Linked DNA regions of Homo sapiens: all the other regions are linked to region 4. Evidence: promoter capture Hi-C in 16 types of primary human blood cells and fetal thymus (Javierre and others, 2016). All regions are on one chromosome and are shown on one strand. The core of a region is centred on a gene start or on the middle of the fragment in contact, and the rest is flanking DNA. Distances in the headings are between cores, read along the strand shown.

Region 1 (4,260 bases), core at 1,687-4,186, 3.1 Mb before region 4:
GGCTCAAGCAATCCTCCCGCTTTGGCATCCCAAAGTGTTGGGATCACAGGTGTGAGTTACTGCACCTGACCCACTAGAGAGTAGATTTGTTATTTGCTGTAGGATCTGCCCTCTTTTAACATGAAAATATCTTTAGGAGGTAAAATAATAACTTTTTTTTTTTGAGACAGGGTCTCACTCTATTGCCCAGGCTGGAGTGCAGTGGTGTGATCTCAGCTTACTGCAGCATCGACCTCCCAGGCTTAGATGATCCTCCTGCCTCAGCCTCCCAAGTAGCTGGGATTATAAGCACACACCATCATGCCCAGCTAATTTTGTATTTTTTGTAGAGATGGGTTTTTGCCATGTTGCCAAGGCTGGTTTTGAACTCCTGGGGTCAAGGGATCCATACACCTTGGCATCCCAAAGTGCTGGGATTACAGGTGTAAGCCACCATGCCAGGCCATAACTAATATTTTTATAGCACTTCTTTTCCTGAAAAAAATGCCCTTCTGAATTGTTATAGCACTTTAAAAAGGAATTTCACATATTTTGAGATAAGCAGCTGGTCTGCTATCTCACACTCATACTAATAATTATTTTATTATGGTGGGGTCCTGTATGGGAATCTAAGCAGCTGAGGAAGCAAGGCTAGGTACTTGGCGGGTTCATTTGGGTGGAGGCTTTTTTTGTGTGTGTGTTTTGTTGTTTTGTAAAACTGCCTGGGGCCAAGAGATTGGAAGTTACGGATAAAGATATACTATCTTTCCAAAGAGGTCCTTTCTTTGAACAGCTAGATCTGCAGTCCTTACCTGAAGATGATTTTGCTCATTCCTCCCCATGACCTTTGGTGATGTCTGGAGACATTTTTGATTGTCACATTGGGGAGGGTGATGCTACTGGCACGTAGTGGGTAGAGGCTGGGGATGCTTCTAAACATCCTATGATGCACAGGACAGTCCCCACAAGAATTATCCAGCCCAAATGTCAATAGTGCCAAGGATGAGAAATTATAAGCTAGAGAAAGAAGAATTCATTGACGAGCTGGAGGAAGCTTCTTGAATTATTATTTATGTTATATATTTAAGAACTTAGAGGCGGGGCACGGTTGCTCACGCCTGTAATCCTAGCACTTTGGAAGGCTGAGAAAGGTGGATCACCTGAGGTCAGGTGTTCAAGACCAGCTTGGCCAATGTGGCGAAACCCCGTCTCTACTAACAATACAAAAATTAGCCGGGCGTGGTGGCTGGCACCTGTAATCCCAGATACTGGGGAGGCTGAGGGAGGAGTATCGCTTGAACCCGGGGAGCGGAGGTTGCAGTGAGCCGAGATTGCGCCACTTTACTCCAGCCTGGGCAAAAGAGCGAAACTCCGTCTCAAACAAAAACAAAAACAAAAGAACTTAGAAAAGGAAGTAAGTCACACACAGTAACCGTTTTTTCTTTTGGGGTATGGCTAGTAGTTTCTAGGAATCCTGGAGACTTTATCTGGATTTCAGTTAGGCATTTCACCAGTTCTCATGGCATCTTTATGGAGGAATATGGGCCAAGAAGACAGTTCGGTTGTGTCGTCCACCTGTATTCGAAGCCTACTGAGAAATTTTTGATGGCAGGAGCATTAAGGTCTTTAGTGGCATGCAGCAGAGTTCTGTCCTCCGCTCTGTCTTATTAAACACTTGGACAGAATGCTGATCAGATTTGAGAAGGATAACAAATCTGGGAAGGGTAGGCATCCCCAAAGATCTTCACCACCAGGAACAACGGTTTGCTTCGTTCAGGCCATCACAGTGTCCTTAGTGAGGGACACCACAACCCATAGGCTGTCCAGAGGAGCGTAATGGGGAAGAATGTGAAAGAGCTTGAAAATCAGGACCTGAGGACATTGCGAGATGGAAAAACACCGTGGGACAAAATGAGGAAAACCGAGAGAAATGGAAATGGCATATACGAAGGCTTTGAGGGAGGACTGTGCCCCTGGGGGAAACTGTGCCCCCGGGCTGGAGTCACAGGCATAGTTTGGCCTCATAGAAGGAGAGGTCGATTAACAAACCTTGCAAGTGTTCAAATGTGGAATGGGCTTGCTCGGAAGGTACTGTCAAGACAGAGACCATCCGAGGGCTTTTATTGCAAGTGTCGAGACACATTGCTGGTGTTTCTCCTTAGAACGTCCTCCAATCTGCTCTGACTTCCGCCCGCACCCGCCTGAGTCCTGCCCCATTCCAAGGGTGGCACATCCAGGTCCCGAGGGCGCCAGCCATGCCCGGAGCACGGGCTGATCTGCGTAACTCTGTCCCTTCGGGAGACTTCTGGGAAATAGTTCTAGTCCTTGCTATCCTTGCTTTCTGGTTTTCAGAAATCAGTGCAGCTGCTGGCTTTATGCAGTCTTCTGCGGGACACTGCACACATCCAGGTGTTTATGTCATTTTTTAAAAAAAACAAATGTTAGATTGGGTGACTAACTTGACAGGACATGAGGAATCTCTTCAAGAGGAATCAGATTTTCTTCAGGATACGTCATCCAGAGACAAGAGCCAAGGGATGTAGAAACCCAGGGAAGCCTCGCGTCCCCACAAAGCCCGCCGGCCAAATCCCGAAGGGGCTCTACCGGGCCAGCTAGCCCGGAGCAGTCCGCGTTTTAGACTTAGAGGCGCGCGACTGCGCGCACCCGGCTGGAGCTGCGGAGAGGACCAATGAGCGGGCGCTCTCTCCGCTCCGGCTCGGGATTGGGCAAGCCGCGCCAGCCTCTCACGGGCGGGGTGGGACTCGGATCCGCGCGCCCACTGCGCCAGAGTCCCGGGGGCGCGTGCGCGGTCTCGCGGCGGCCGCAGGGGCCGGTCTCGCGCGGTCTAGAAGTGGAGTTGCTGGCGGCTGCGGCGGTGACGGCGGCGACGGAGGAGGCAGGCGGTGGGGCGGGGGCGGGGACTAAGGATTCTGAGGTGGGGAGTCGGGAGTTTCTGGATTCTTTATCCGGAATTTCAAGGGCCGCCGGAGGGCTGTCGCTTCTGCAGTGCGTAGGAGCGGCCGGGGCGGGAGGCTCCGCGGAGCCGAGGCGTGGAGGTAAGAGGCGGATCGGCGGCGGCTGGGCTGTAGAGATCTTAATCAACAGGTCCCTGGGAGCGCGGCGGGGGAGGGGCGGGCGGCCGGGCTCCCCTTCCCCCACACGCTGCGCAAACTCCGGCCAGCGGGAGACCCCTGGCAGCCAGGCGGGCTTCCTCAGGCGCGCGAGCTGCGGCCGTGGAGGGTGTGAGCCCAACCTTTGTCCCTCGGAGCAACGCTGCCTGCGCGGTGCCCGCTCCTTCTGCTTGGCTGGGCATGCACCTTGGCGCGGGCCACAGCCAGCCGAGCCCGAGGTGCAGGGGGCGCGGCGGGGAGTCGTCTGCCCCCTGCGCCCTCTCTCCGAGGTCGCGACGCGCGGGACTCTCCCGGCCGGGTCTGGGAAATCGGCGAGGGAACGCTTTCCTTTAGAAGTCAGAATGTAGTCAGCGTTCCTCTGCCTGACTCAGCTGCTGGTATTCTGCTGCTCATTGCGTTCTTAAACACGCAAACAGTTCCTGCTTCCTTGTGACCACTTTAAAAGAAAAGCCTAGTTTTGTTCATGGTTTCTGATACTTTAAGGTTGCACGTTGAACTTTGAAGCATGTAAATTGTTATAACCTACGTTTAATGAAGTTTGCTTTAAACGATCTTTGTAGTAAATTATGTAACTTTCTAATGATCATAACTCACCTTCTGTTGATTGACATACAGTAATGTGTACGGAATGTAGGTTTCGGTCAAAAGGTTTTTCTTGGCAGTTTATGCTAAAATTAAAATCTGATGGCTAGGAAGTTTTTAGATGTAGTATGGAGTGTGTGTTTTGTCTCCATACTCGTTTAGAATAGTAAGAATTTAGATTTGGAAAGTCAGTTGAACAAAAATTTTGAAATTTTGATTTGACTGACGCAGTGAAAGGTGTTAATATTTCTGATTTTTTAAAAAAGCAATATCATGTTTTAATGATAGTTTACTAATTATGCTTTTGGATTATACCAGAAGTTAATAACCTGTTAAATTATGCAATAGGAACAAATGACGTGTTGGTTATTGGTGTCTTTGAAGTATTGGTGGTAATGAAACTTATTAAATAAGCTTCCTTGAATTAAGAACTACGATTTTTTTTTTTTACTAGATCCCTGTGGACATAGCTATTGTGGATAGGTTTTATAGGCTTTCTATTTGCGGCAGGATGAGCTATTAAATTATAATGTAAGAGATTTATAGATAAAACAGGCAAAAATAGGAA
Region 2 (4,359 bases), core at 1,470-3,969, 3.9 Mb before region 4:
AATAGACTCTGCTACTTCAAAGCAGAAGGCCAAGGAGACAGACATCTGACAAAGGTTGTGAATTTTGTCAATCCAGTTGTCCCTCTGAGAGTTTCAGCGATTTCCCCACAGAATTTACGGCAATATTAGAGAAAATAATATAGTTCATTTAAAAAATAGAATATAGAGATGGCTCTGAGGACAGGGAAAAAGTTCTTAAATTTTCAAGTATCTATGAATATGAACTCCATTTTTCAAAAAGGACACGAGATGGGAAATCATGGCCAAGGGATGACAATGTTCTATCAGTATCAGTATGTATGTTTCTAATTTCTTAGTCTTATTCTGTAAAGCGCTTAAACAGCTTACAAAAATCACAGTCAACACATAGGGTTAAATAAATATATGAGTAAATCAAAGAAAAGGGAAAATAAGTTGAAGCCGGGCAAATACACAAGAATGCATAATGAGAGTACTGTACAGCTGGCAGAGGTAGGCTACAAATTTGGTTCTGAATTTTCCAGTAAAAAGAAACATGGATTTATGAAACTCATGAAGTAACAACAAACCAATTGCTCAGGAGAAACATAGTTTTTCCTGGTGTTGAAATCTGAGAGAAATTTCTCCTCCAGGTCCATATAATGGGGGCAGGACATTGTTTGTGTGATGATAGTCGCCAATGTCTTCAACAATATTTCAAAATAAATTCAGAATCTAAATTTCCTAGGTTGTTTCTCCTCTGTTCTTTGGCATAATCTGATAAAAAGATATTAATCTGAAATTTATTTTAAGTGACAAATCACCTCAAGATGATTTGATTCAGGTACATAAGACTCTCTGGTCTGGCTTGATCCATAGGTAAATTTTAGAAAACTAGTAAGACTGAACTGACTATCCTTCAGGCAGTATTCTATGCATATTTTTCTTTCAATTTATGTTCTAATAAGAATTGGACAGCATAAAATTGGAAAGAATCCTGGAATGCAACAAGAAGCAGTATTAAATCATTAAGATACAAATTTAAAAGACAGAAGAGAAGAGGGTTATGAGGAAGACAGACAAGTCCCTGTTTTACTTCATTCAAAATTAGCTGAAGGTCATCTCAAGGGATCTATATGGTAAAGAGCCAAAAGCTTTTTAGCTCCAGAATCAAATTAAGTCTAAATTAGTAAATAAGGGTTCCATTCAACTTGATTGTCTCAGGAGATATTTTTTCTCCTTGCATGTAAAACATTGAATCAACTTTGAATTGGAACAGCCACAGATCCACATCTTCTTTTCTCTCCTTTCCTTTTATGTTCCTGGAGAATTAAATGATAGGGTACTATACGGCTTAGTTACCACAAATTAATGTAGCCACAGGCAATGGATCAATGTGTTAAATTGATTCTGCATTCATTTAGCACTAATTATGGGCCAGTTTCATTTTCTAACACATGTATTCAAACTCTATAGGTTTGTTTGAGCCCAAGTGGATTTGAAATCTAATGGAGTCCTATATTTTGGTTATGTGGCCTATTTTTTCACCTCTAGTATTTGATTATTTAAAAGCAAACAAATATTCTCTTCATAAAGGATTTTAAAACTAATTATGTAAAGAGGTTATTACCAACCTATTTGGTAATAATTTCTTAATGGTAGGTGTTGTAGTATTTTCCAACTTTGTGTATCACCTGGACTATTATTTATTCAATATTTGTTGTTTACATTGACTTCTTTAGTTTCCTAAATGCATTCCTTGAAAATAAAATTTATATTACTATTTTAAATGAAGAATCAATAGAGTTTTCCACAATAGAAGGTAAACTTAATAATAAATACACAAAAAACAAGATTTTAATGTTCTAGAAAAATACATAAGCCTGAGATCTATTTTATCTCCATTAGGAAGTGAGATTAGAAAGACATACAGAATTTTGGCCAGGCATGGTGGCTCACGCCTGTAATCCCAGCACTTTGGGAGGCTGAGGCAGGTGGATCACGCGGTCAGGAGATTGAGACAATCCTGGTTAACATGGTGAAACCCCATCTCTACAACAAAATACAGAAAATTAGCCAGGTGTGGTGGCACACACCTATAGTCCCAGATACTCAGGAGGCTGAGGCAGGAGAATCGCTTGAACCTGGGAGGCAGAGGTTACAGTGAGCTGCGATGACGCCACTGCACTCCAGCCTAGGTGACAGAGCGAGACTTCGTATCAAAAAAAAAAAAAAAAGACATAGAGAACTTTAAAGAAAGCCAGCACCAAACTGCAACTTTCTCCTTGATGCCATCAAGTTTGAAATAATTGAAAAGGCAATAATTTTCTCACTGTGATTTATAGTATTTAATGCCTTGTCCCAACACCGAAATTTATCCCAATTGCCACCTAAAATCATCTCATCATCAAATTTTGGCAAATTGTAATTTAAGGAAAAAAGCACTGAATTTAAGACTCAGATACATGAGTTGCAGGCCTTCCTCTGAGGCTCACCAGTTATATGACTTGGAAAAGTCATTTAATTTCAGGTTTTAAAAATACAAACAACATTAACATGGAGCATGCTGAGAACTTAATACCTTGTGCAACCCTCACAGTGACTCTATGAAAGGTATTATAGAACAAGAAACAAGCTCAGAGAAGCCAGGCTTCTTGGCTCCATATTCAATCCTTATTCCCTAGACTATGCTACAAAATGGATGTGTAAAAGCATGTGACTTTTCATGCCTCTTCTAGATCTAAACGCTATAATTTGAATCCAAATTTATTATCTGTTTAACGTATAATCTTCTCAGTGAAGAAGCATACTCCTAAGGTTAATTTGTTCAGTAAGAAAATGTTAACTCTGCATTTAGCCCAGTAGGTGGCACCAACCACATCCAGGCTTCAAGTCCACAGAGTGGTAATTCAGGAACCATGAAATGCTGTGGGAGAGATCGGTCTTCTATTACTCTCAGGACAAAAGGTGCCACATTCATGTATCAAATGAAAAAAGAAAAAAATTTCTTGATGTTTTATCACATGCTCTTTTGGCACCAAGGTGTATTACTGGCAGCCTTGATTAGACCATGTTAAACTCAGTGTTCTGTTGCATAATTTTTACCTAGTATTTTACTCCCTGTACTACAGTTATCTCCATTTCAAAAAACAGTCACTGCCCACTTCCTCCACAATCCTTGTAGAATAGTGTTCCCTTCCACCACAGATAAATCAGGCGATTGGGGCACTAAAAGAAAAAATGAGCACTAAACAAAAAATAAAAGATGGTGCTTATTTGAAGTTTGTATACTTAACAGTGTTACAGGACAGCGTTTCTTTTTCTCTAGTTTCAAAAGAATTGAATTGCACAAACCTGTCTTAGAGAAAGGGTGGAATATAATTTTGGACACACCTCTCAGTAAATCAGGGTACAGGCTTTTCTGTTCTAAGCATTTCCAAGTAGATGAAGAGTTTACCTCAGTACTCTTAGCCAAGAATTCCTCCTCCCACTGTCCGATGTGCTGGTTGGCTGAGTTGCAGTGGTATGATCTGTGTAGCTGGCAAAATACAATCCTGTGTTAATATTACTGATTTTGTTACACTTCAACAAATCCCTACTTGTGAATTCCCTTGATGCCCAGGATGTGGCATTACCGTCATCCATGTTATCTCTTTGGCATGCTGCCTCACTTAGTCTGTTTATACCTACGATGAAGTCTTTACTTTTGATCTTTCCGGAGACAGGTGACATTTGAAAGGATTTACTTTTCCACCAGTGTAAAATTATAATTTGATTCAGGGTGTATTGTAGGCCCTCCCTAACTTCTATAGAGTCCAGAAGGCAAGTTTGTGGACTTTGGCAGTCACCTATCTTAGAGAGCACAGGTGCTAAGCAATCTCTAAATTCAACTGAATTTCCCATCATATCTGCTGGTGTTTAAAGAAGAGGTTTATCTTCAGCAATAATATAACTTGTGTTAAGACATTTGATTCTGATAGCTTTGCTTTTCTCTCCTCCCCTCAATCCCCACCAACTCTTAGCATTTCCTTGAGCTCTTCTGAGAAAAACCTGAACGTTGGATGTGAGTATTATGCTACACTTATAAATTCAGATGAAAGCCCAGCGAAATGGGAAATGAATACTCTTTGAGACCTTATTTATTCTCTAACTCCTTCTGTTCTGAAAGCAAGTCATTCTTCCTGGCTTTAACCTTTACTTCACTTTAGTATTATTCTTCCTGATGGCTGAACTACACTTCAGCAGGTGCTGCTGAAGGGAAAATAGTAGTGTTAAGCTAAAATGCTGAAGGGCAGGGGCGGAAAACCACAGCTAGCTCAAATCCGGGTCCTTGATAAGCAGTACTGTTGCTTTCAAGTACAGGCTTTTTAAAGCTTTGAGGCAACCTGAACCTTTTGAATG
Region 3 (4,030 bases), core at 484-2,983, 3.8 Mb before region 4:
ATCTGGGCAGAGAAGATAAATACCAAGGAAGAAGAAAAGATTGTTTAACCTACTTAAAAGTAATTGGGACTGTAGTCAATATGAATGGCATCTAATCTCACTTTCATTAAAAAGTTTTTTTGAGTGACCTCTCAAAAAGGAAATGTTTAATGAAGTATTGCTAGGTAGAAGTTCTATCCAGGTTCTTTAATGAATTTATAAACTAAATTGTTTTTAATAAATTAATTTTAACTAAGTAGAGCTTCTTGAAAATTTTGTGTTTAAACAACCCCAACAATTTTAACAGTAGCTTTGTCAGTATTTATACATTTCGAAAGAGTGTAATTAAATTTACCATGCTTTAAAAAGAATTCTTAATTTGAAAAATAAAGCAGCAAGGAAATGAAATATGATGAAGGAATTGTCACCATAATTTGGGGCATTCTTCTCAAACTGGAGTACATGACATTGTGTCAAGGGATACCTATAAGGCTTAGAATCTAAGCCACAGGAACAAACATAATAATTTTTTAAGTACCAATTTTACTTGATGGTATTAATTTAAATAACTTTAATATTAAGATAAGCATAAGTAAATTAGGCACAAAGTATAGAATTCATATGAGGCTTTAAGATGAAATTAGAAACTTCAAAGAAATTTCAAGTGAGCCCATTATATTTCAAGTGAGCTCCAGATCTCGTCATTCTTCTGCGTTATTGACACTTCATGGCAAAAAATTTAAGGAGCACTGAATCATAGAAAGAACACTGTAAGAACTATGTTCTCATACTATTCTGGCTAGTAAAGTTTTGTAACCTTCAGTATATTGTGTAACCCTCTCTCAGCTTTTCTTACCACTAAAATGAAGAAATCACTCTCTAAGATCACTTCAAGGCTCTCATGGCAGTATATGTTTCTATCTTTTAGCATTCTGACCAGCAGGAAAGAGAAATATAGGATATTAGACCTAGTTAATTTTTTTCTGTCTTTATAATGGGAATGATTATAGGGGAGGGTAGGTTATACATAAAAATGCAAGAGAATAAGAAATAGAATAATGATCAAAGAAGGAAAATATTTAGATTTTTTATTTAGAAATTTTTGTGACATTAATCTTTCTGTTATTAGCAATCTTACACTTAGGTTTCAGACACAGCTCAGGACTGACTTTGTCAATAAAATATTTCCTAGGAATTATTCTCTTCAATGATGTCTTTCTTTGTTTTCCTTACAACGTTTATAAATGTTGTCTATACCCTGTAATCTATATGTGGGAGGCTGCATGGTGTAGCTTAAAAAGGATAGAACTTTGGAGTCAGATAGACTTGGACTTCAGACCCTCATTTGCCCTTTATTTTGGGAAGTCATTTCACCTCTCTGAATTTCAGTTTTCTTCTCCGAAATGAAGATGGCAATATCTACTTTACAAAGTTTTCAGAACTAATAGAGGTAACGCATATGAAAATGCCTAGCATTTTCAGATGAGATACTCAGTTATTTTTGGTTCCTTCCTCTTTGTATGTTGCTTTGGGAGCAACTTGCCACAGTTTCGTGTATACATGTCTTATTCAAAGTAGATTTTAAAGTTCTTGAGATATATGGTTATGTTCTTTACTTCTTTTGTGCCCTTTTGTCATAGCATCTGTTAATGAAGTAATTGGATAGAAGGTGTTTAATAAAAAAATTGGGTGGTGTAAAATTTATATAGTACCTTAAGAAACATTTAGGTAAACCAGAACTTGGCTATTATTACTAAAAGGATAGTTTAGGGTAGATGGAGTGAAGTTGATTAGTTTTTAAAAGGTATGTTTTTCTGGTAATAGGATGATATTTATAACGATGTGTGTTTGAGATGTTTTATAGCATTAAATTTTGTATATTGTTTTAGTTGGGTGTTGTTTGTGTGAGGATAATTTTAGACTAATGAAATTTGATATCTAAAAACTAAAAATTTGAAATTATAGGTAAAAAAATTCTGAAAATGCTGTTAATGTTGATTCTGGTGATCAAAATAACACTGTTAGGAGTCAAAAGTTATGCCTCTTCTCCCACTTTCAAGATAAGCACATTTTACCACAGTTTCCTTACCTTTAAATGGGGGTAAGTGTGTTTACCTTGATGGGTTAATGTGAGAAATGAAATAATGTATTCAGTATTCAACACCTACTATGTACCAAGGCCCTGTGCTAAGTGAAGGATACAATAGTGATTAAGACAGTTCAATCTTTCTTGTCTTGAAGCATATATTCTAGCACTACTGTGAAAACATTATTCAGTCAAGTTGAATATTGACACATTCATGCTTCATTTATGTTTCAAGGAATAAGGTGCTTTTATATTTTATTTTTTAAGTAGATAACAAGTACAAGCACCAAAACTGTTTTTATGTCAAGCCATTTTTTTGATACACATTTTTTTTTTTTTGAGACGGACTCACTCTGTCGCCCAGGCTGGAATGCAGTGGTGCGATCTCAGCTTGCTGCAACCTCTGCCTCCCGGGTTCAAGTGATTCTCCTGCCTCAGCCTCCCGAGTAGCTGGGATTACAGGCGCCTGCCACCATGCCTGGCTAATTTTTTTTTTTTTTTTGTATTTTTAGTAGAGACAGAGTTTTACCATGTTGGCCAGGCTGGTTTTGGACTCCTGACCTCAAGTGATCTACCTGCCTTAGCCTCCCAAAGTGCTGGGATTACAGATGTGAGCCACCGTGCCTGGCCAGCAATTATATTTCTACATTCTATTCTGAATATCTGTTACTGTGACATGATAGTATGTTTCCATAACGTATATGCTTTTCAGGTTTTACCCACTTGCCCTTCCTCTTCCTGCCCTGCCCTTCTAATCTACTATATCCTTGGGAACCACATAAACTTGCTAAGAATTATTTGTGATATTACATCCAGTTAGATTTGAAGTGAGGGTCTAAAGGCACATATTTTCACTTTTGGGTTCAGGGCATCAGAAAATGAGTGGATATTACTATAATAAATAGCTTTATTTCTTTGTATAGTACTTCACGATTTCAGGATCATGGCTAAATGTGTCTGCCTGATGCTGTAAATGTTAATAAAAATCCACTCTATGAGTGAAAGAGATTAAGTGCAATTTGAATGCTAAGTAAAAATGAAATGTTTCTTTTAATTATTTCTTGTTCTTTTAAAAAACACATTAATGTGCACTTGAAATTAATAATCTTTAAAGTCTAATTAATGGTTAAGAACTGTTGGATATCTTATAAATAAGAAACTGAGCCAGGCACAGGGGCTCACGCCTGTAATCCCAGCACTTTGGGAGGCTGAGGCGGGCAGATCACGAAGTCAGGAGATTGAGACCATCCTGGCCAACATGGTGAAACCCCACCTCTACTAAAAATATGAAAATTAGGCAGGCATGGTGGTGTGTGCCTGTAATCCCAGCTACTCGGGAGTGAGGCAGGAGAATCACTTGAACCCCTGAGGCAGAGATTGTAGTGAGCCAAGACTGTGCCACTGTACTCCAGCCTGGCCACACAGTGAGACTCCATCTCAAAAAAAAAAAAAAAAAAAAAAAAAAGAAGAAACTGAATAGAGTAAAAATACTATTTTCAGATGTAAAAAGATGAAGGAACATTTACACGGTGGTGCCCCCCTCTTCACTTTCACCTAAGAGTCTATACAGAACATTTTGATTATAGTCTAAACTTTAAAAATTATGCTTTCATAAAATTAACATCCACATTGTAGAAGTTACGTTTGGATTAAACTGCAAGTGGGCACTACCCAAAGCAATCTACAGATTCAATGCAGTCCTATCAATGACATTCTATACCAATGACATTCTTCACAGAAATAGGGAAAAAAAAGTTAAAATTTGTATGGAACCATAAAGGACCTGGAATAGCCAAAGCAATCCTGAACAAAAAGGACAAAGCTGGAGACATCATACTATCAGACTTTAAAATATACTACAGAGTGATAGTAACCAAAACAGCATGGTACTGGTGTAAAAACAGACACATAGACCAAAGGAACAGAATCGAGAACCCAGAAATTAATCCTCATATCTACAGCCAA
Region 4 (3,989 bases), core at 1,127-3,626:
CAAATAACTAGAACTGTGTACATGCCCAGAGCAATGTATATGCCCAAGAAAGACCTGAGAAGGCCCTAAATTCTCAACTTATGACTAATTTGAAGCTCTGAGCAAGTAAGAAGTGAAGGCTATACATGGAGCTGTAAATTGCATGGCTGAATGTTGAAAGCATGCCCAAAAAAGCATGCAGAGCCTCTCGACAAAGACTGGCAGATTTGTTGGTTTTGGGTTTTAAAGAAACCTCTGTCCAATAAAAGGAAACATAGTCCAATTAAAAAATGGGCAAAGGATTTGAACAGACATTTCTCCAAAAAGATATTCAAATGACCAATAAACATTTGAAAAGATGCTCAACATAATAAGTCGTTAGGGAAATGAAAATCAAAACCACAATGAGGTATCACTTCACACCTACTAGAAAGGGTAATAATTCAAAAGATGGACAATAACAAGTGTTGGCAAGGATGTGGAGAAATTGAAAATCATATCTTGCTGGTGGGAATGTAAAATGATGCAGCCACTTTGGAAAACATCTGGCACATCCTAAAAAGTTGAAGAGTTACCATATGACCTAGCAATTCCACGTCTAGGTATATTCCCTACCTGAGAGAAATGAAAACATACTTCCACACAAAGCGTGTACATAAATGTTCATAGCAGCATTATTCATAATAGTCAAAAATTGAAACAACCCAAATGTTCATCAATTGATAAAATATATCCAAACAATGGAATTATATCCATCAAAAGGAATGAAGTATTGATATATGTTACAATGTGAATGAACCTTAAAAACATTCTAAGTGGAAGAATCCAGTCACAAAAAACCCACGTTGTATTAGTGTGTTAATATGAAATGTGCAGAATAAGCAAATTTACGGGTAGAAGTAGATTAGTGGTTTACCAGGCCAGCATTAAGAGGCAGGAAGAAATGGGAAGTGACTACTATTAGTTATGATGCTTTTTTGGGGGCAATGAAAATGTTCTAAAATTGTGGTGATGGCTCCATAACTAAGAATATACTAATATACGAATATATTAGTATACTAATATCGAATTTGCTAAAAACAACAATTTTTTTTTTTTTTTTTTTTTTTGGAGAGACAGAGGTCTTGCTGGTTTGGAACTCCTGACCTAAAGCGATCCTCCTGTCTTGGCTTCCCCTAACACTGGGATTACAGGTGTGAGCCATCGTGCTTGGCCCAGATACTTCAAATGGGTGAATCTTTTGGAGATTCCTAAAATCCACATTTGATGAATGTGGATTTTTCAAAACTGTGTAAAATATCCATTACCTTTCTAAGATCACTTCTTTCCTTTAGTCTGCTTAAATGGAAAAGCTGGTAATTTCATCTGCGCCAACATTCATACAAAATAAAAATATAGTCTGTATTTAAAAGCAGCTTTTGTTCATATGCTTTAATTATTTCATTTACTAACACATCAAGGCTTGCTGAAGCAAAATAACTGGCCCGTAATCAAAAAGCAAATAAGAGTCATCTGGATTTCAACTCTGGTTGTCTTAAGCCAGCCTCAGCCTGCATTTCATGACATCCTTAGGGAACTCAGTGTGGATATGGATGAAACCATATAAACACGGAAGCTGTTTTCAACGTGCTTTAGAAATTATAACACAGCAATCATTCTGGCTACAATGTGGCAGGCACCGTACTCAACACTTTATTCACAAGGTGTTATTAGTTCATCACAACTCTAAGTATTAAGCTAATTCACAAACTAGAAAGATGAAACAGAAAGATACCAGGAATTCGTGCAGTTAAATGGAATACATCTAGTCCCAATGATCCACAGTATCGTCAAAACATAGCTAAGTTGGGGGCGAGGAAGCAAGCTTAGTAATCATCCAAACTTGGCTTAAAGTGTGGTTCTGACTGAATTCTCTGAGCTTCAATTTACTTAACTGTGAATCAAGGGTAGTAACAATGACCGCGTTCGACGATGGGAAAGACGCCACGCTCACAAGCAGACAGATCCTAGTACACCTGAAATCCAACCGGGAGTGGGGGACAGCGGCGGGGAAGTGGGGGTGTGGAAAAGACTGGTGGAAGAGCTTTTAGGAAAGCTCTCACCCCGTCGCTAGCTCCTTCCTAGCCCGAGTGCCAGCCCTTAACTTCACATTTTACAGATTCCCTCCCAGGTCTTGATCCTGCCAAGGAGGAGGGTCCCACCCCTTGCGGAAGATCCTCCTCACTCCACTCACCAACATGGGGACTCCATAGCCGAGAGTCTTGTTCTTGCGAAAAGCACGCATCACCGCGGGTGCAAACATGAGTGAACTCTTCCATCGGCTCAGAACTCCAAGCGGGCCTAGCGCAGACTCCCAAATCTCAGCAGCTCACGCTCTCACCAAGACGAGTACGTCCTTAACTCACTTCCTTTTCCTTGGTTATTTGGTGCTCGGTCCTTAGTGAATGGTTTCCGCTAGGCAAAAGCAATCGAGCCATCGTAACATACTTGTGCGTCCGCCCAGAAATGTGGGCGTCAGCGTTTTTGGTTCCGTAACGTCGGCGTGCAATTGGGATTTAGAGATTTGAATCGGTTTACGATCACCACCAAATTGATCTGGAAACCAGTACTTCCCACGTTCTGGGTCCTAACTAACGTCTGCTTAGAACACTCCCTTAGGCACATAGCCACTCGATAAAATCAGCTAAGGAAAAAAGTATTTTGAGGCCGGGCGCGGTGGCCTGGGTGGGTGGCCTGTAATCCCAGCACTTTGGGAGGCCGAGGCCGGTAGATCACCTGAGGTCAGGAGTTCTAGATCAGCCTGGTCAACATGGTAAAACCCCGTCTCTATTAAAAAAAAAAAATACAAAAATTAGCCGGGCGTGGTGGCAGGCGCCTGTAATCCCAGCTACTGGGGGGCCGAGGCAGGAGAATCGCTTGAACCCGGGAGGCGGAGGTTGCAATGAGCAGAGATCGCGCCATCGCACTCCAGCCTGGGGAACAAGAGCGAGACTTCGTCTCAAAAAGAAAAAAGAAAAAAAAGTATTTTGAAGCTGGTACTCCAGTCTTTATGGCTATTTGTGGGATGAGGAATTTGCCAGTTTAATGGAGACTTTTAAAAATAAATCGCTTTTGAAAGATTAGGTTGAAATGTAATCAGTGTAGTGTCTCATCAGTCATTACTGAACTTTTAATGCTAATGATTTTACTGTGAGATAACCTGTAATCTTTAGTCATTTATGAATGTCTATTTACCAATGATTCAGCAACCATACAGGCCACCTTTCAGCGTGTCTTTGAAAGGGTTCTAGGAACACAGATAAAAATATATGATCCTTACCTTAAAGACACTGGCGATTTCATGGGCACAGAAACAAACATGTGTGAAGTACTGGGATAGCTTAGGAAGCCGATCCCCCACGTGTCCCATTTACCAGAGTGAATCAGAGTGCAGGTGATGCGGAATATTATCTTCCATGCTATTCCTGAAATATTTCCATCTGTCCCTGCCTCTCTGTTACCACTGAAATGTTCCTTTTTTTAATTCCTTATCATCTTTTCACCTATTAAAGTAGCCTCTTAAGTGGTCTCCAGAAGAGAAGCTCCAGATCTACTGCAGGCTACTCCAGTGAAACTTATCCTTTTGGCTAAGATCAAGTGTAGTATCTGTTCTTAACAGTTTAATATTTGACACATTCTCTATCCAAGGAAAATATGTTAAATGGGTTTTTGAAGCAAGGAGATGGAATAGGAGTTTGCTCCACCACTCTACACATCAACCTGTATTTCAATACCTCCAGAAACCCAGGAACGGTGCATCTCTCCCATCTTATTTACTTCCTTTTGATATTTCAAAATTCATGCAGACCAGGCATGGTGGCTCATGCCTGTAATACCTGCAGTTTGGGAGGCTGAGGCAGGAGGATCATTTGAGCCCAGGAGTTCGAGACCAGCCTGAGCAACAAAGCAAGACCCCATCTTTACAAATAATAATAATAATAATAAATTAGCCAGGCATGGTGGGGTCTCAG

What was found. The method cuts DNA at HindIII sites, captures the fragments that hold promoters and counts their contacts. A CHiCAGO score of 5 or more calls a contact.
Region 1: a contact is called between the fragment with the promoter of PALS1 here and the fragment with the promoter of COX16 in region 4, in 1 of 17 cell types (monocytes). The highest score is 9.1, in monocytes.
Region 2: a contact is called between a fragment that was not itself captured here and the fragment with the promoter of COX16 in region 4, in 1 of 17 cell types (monocytes). The highest score is 5.2, in monocytes.
Region 3: a fragment that was not itself captured here is called in contact with the fragment with the promoter of COX16 in region 4 in 2 of 17 cell types (naive CD4 T cells and monocytes); the score reaches 5.5 in naive CD4 T cells.

What each region holds. Positions count from the first base shown.
Region 1 is chr14:67,238,499-67,242,758 of GRCh38, forward strand. It overlaps PALS1 (protein associated with LIN7 1, MAGUK p55 family member), which reads left to right and starts at 2,937. Exons shown (of 15, transcript NM_022474.4): 1 at 2,937-3,035. LOC124903330 (a long non-coding RNA gene) reads right to left here and starts at 2,911. Exons shown (of 2, transcript XR_007064217.1): 1 at 792-2,911. It also overlaps a transcript of GPHN not described here. RefSeq lists an enhancer at 2,289-2,568 and a silencer at 2,549-3,518. The HindIII fragment of the contact is 3,073 bases long and covers 1,032-4,104 here.
Region 2 is chr14:66,492,847-66,497,205 of GRCh38, forward strand. All of the region lies in intron 8 of CCDC196 (coiled-coil domain containing 196), which reads left to right. Among named protein-coding and RNA genes, the nearest start is that of CCDC196, 8.7 kb to the left of the region's middle. The HindIII fragment of the contact is 3,219 bases long and covers 1,111-4,329 here.
Region 3 is chr14:66,513,623-66,517,652 of GRCh38, forward strand. The region is part of intron 1 of GPHN (gephyrin); the gene reads left to right. Among named protein-coding and RNA genes, the nearest start is that of GPHN, 7.5 kb to the left of the region's middle. The HindIII fragment of the contact is 5,208 bases long and covers 1-4,030 here.
Region 4 is chr14:70,357,307-70,361,295 of GRCh38, forward strand. It overlaps COX16 (cytochrome c oxidase assembly factor COX16), which reads right to left and starts at 2,377. Exons shown (of 4, transcript NM_016468.7): 1 at 2,213-2,377. The coding sequence starts at 2,281. All of the region lies in intron 3 of SYNJ2BP-COX16 (SYNJ2BP-COX16 readthrough), which reads right to left. It also overlaps the pseudogene RNU2-51P. RefSeq lists enhancers at 2,097-2,406, 2,867-2,956. The HindIII fragment of the contact is 4,146 bases long and covers 1,842-3,989 here.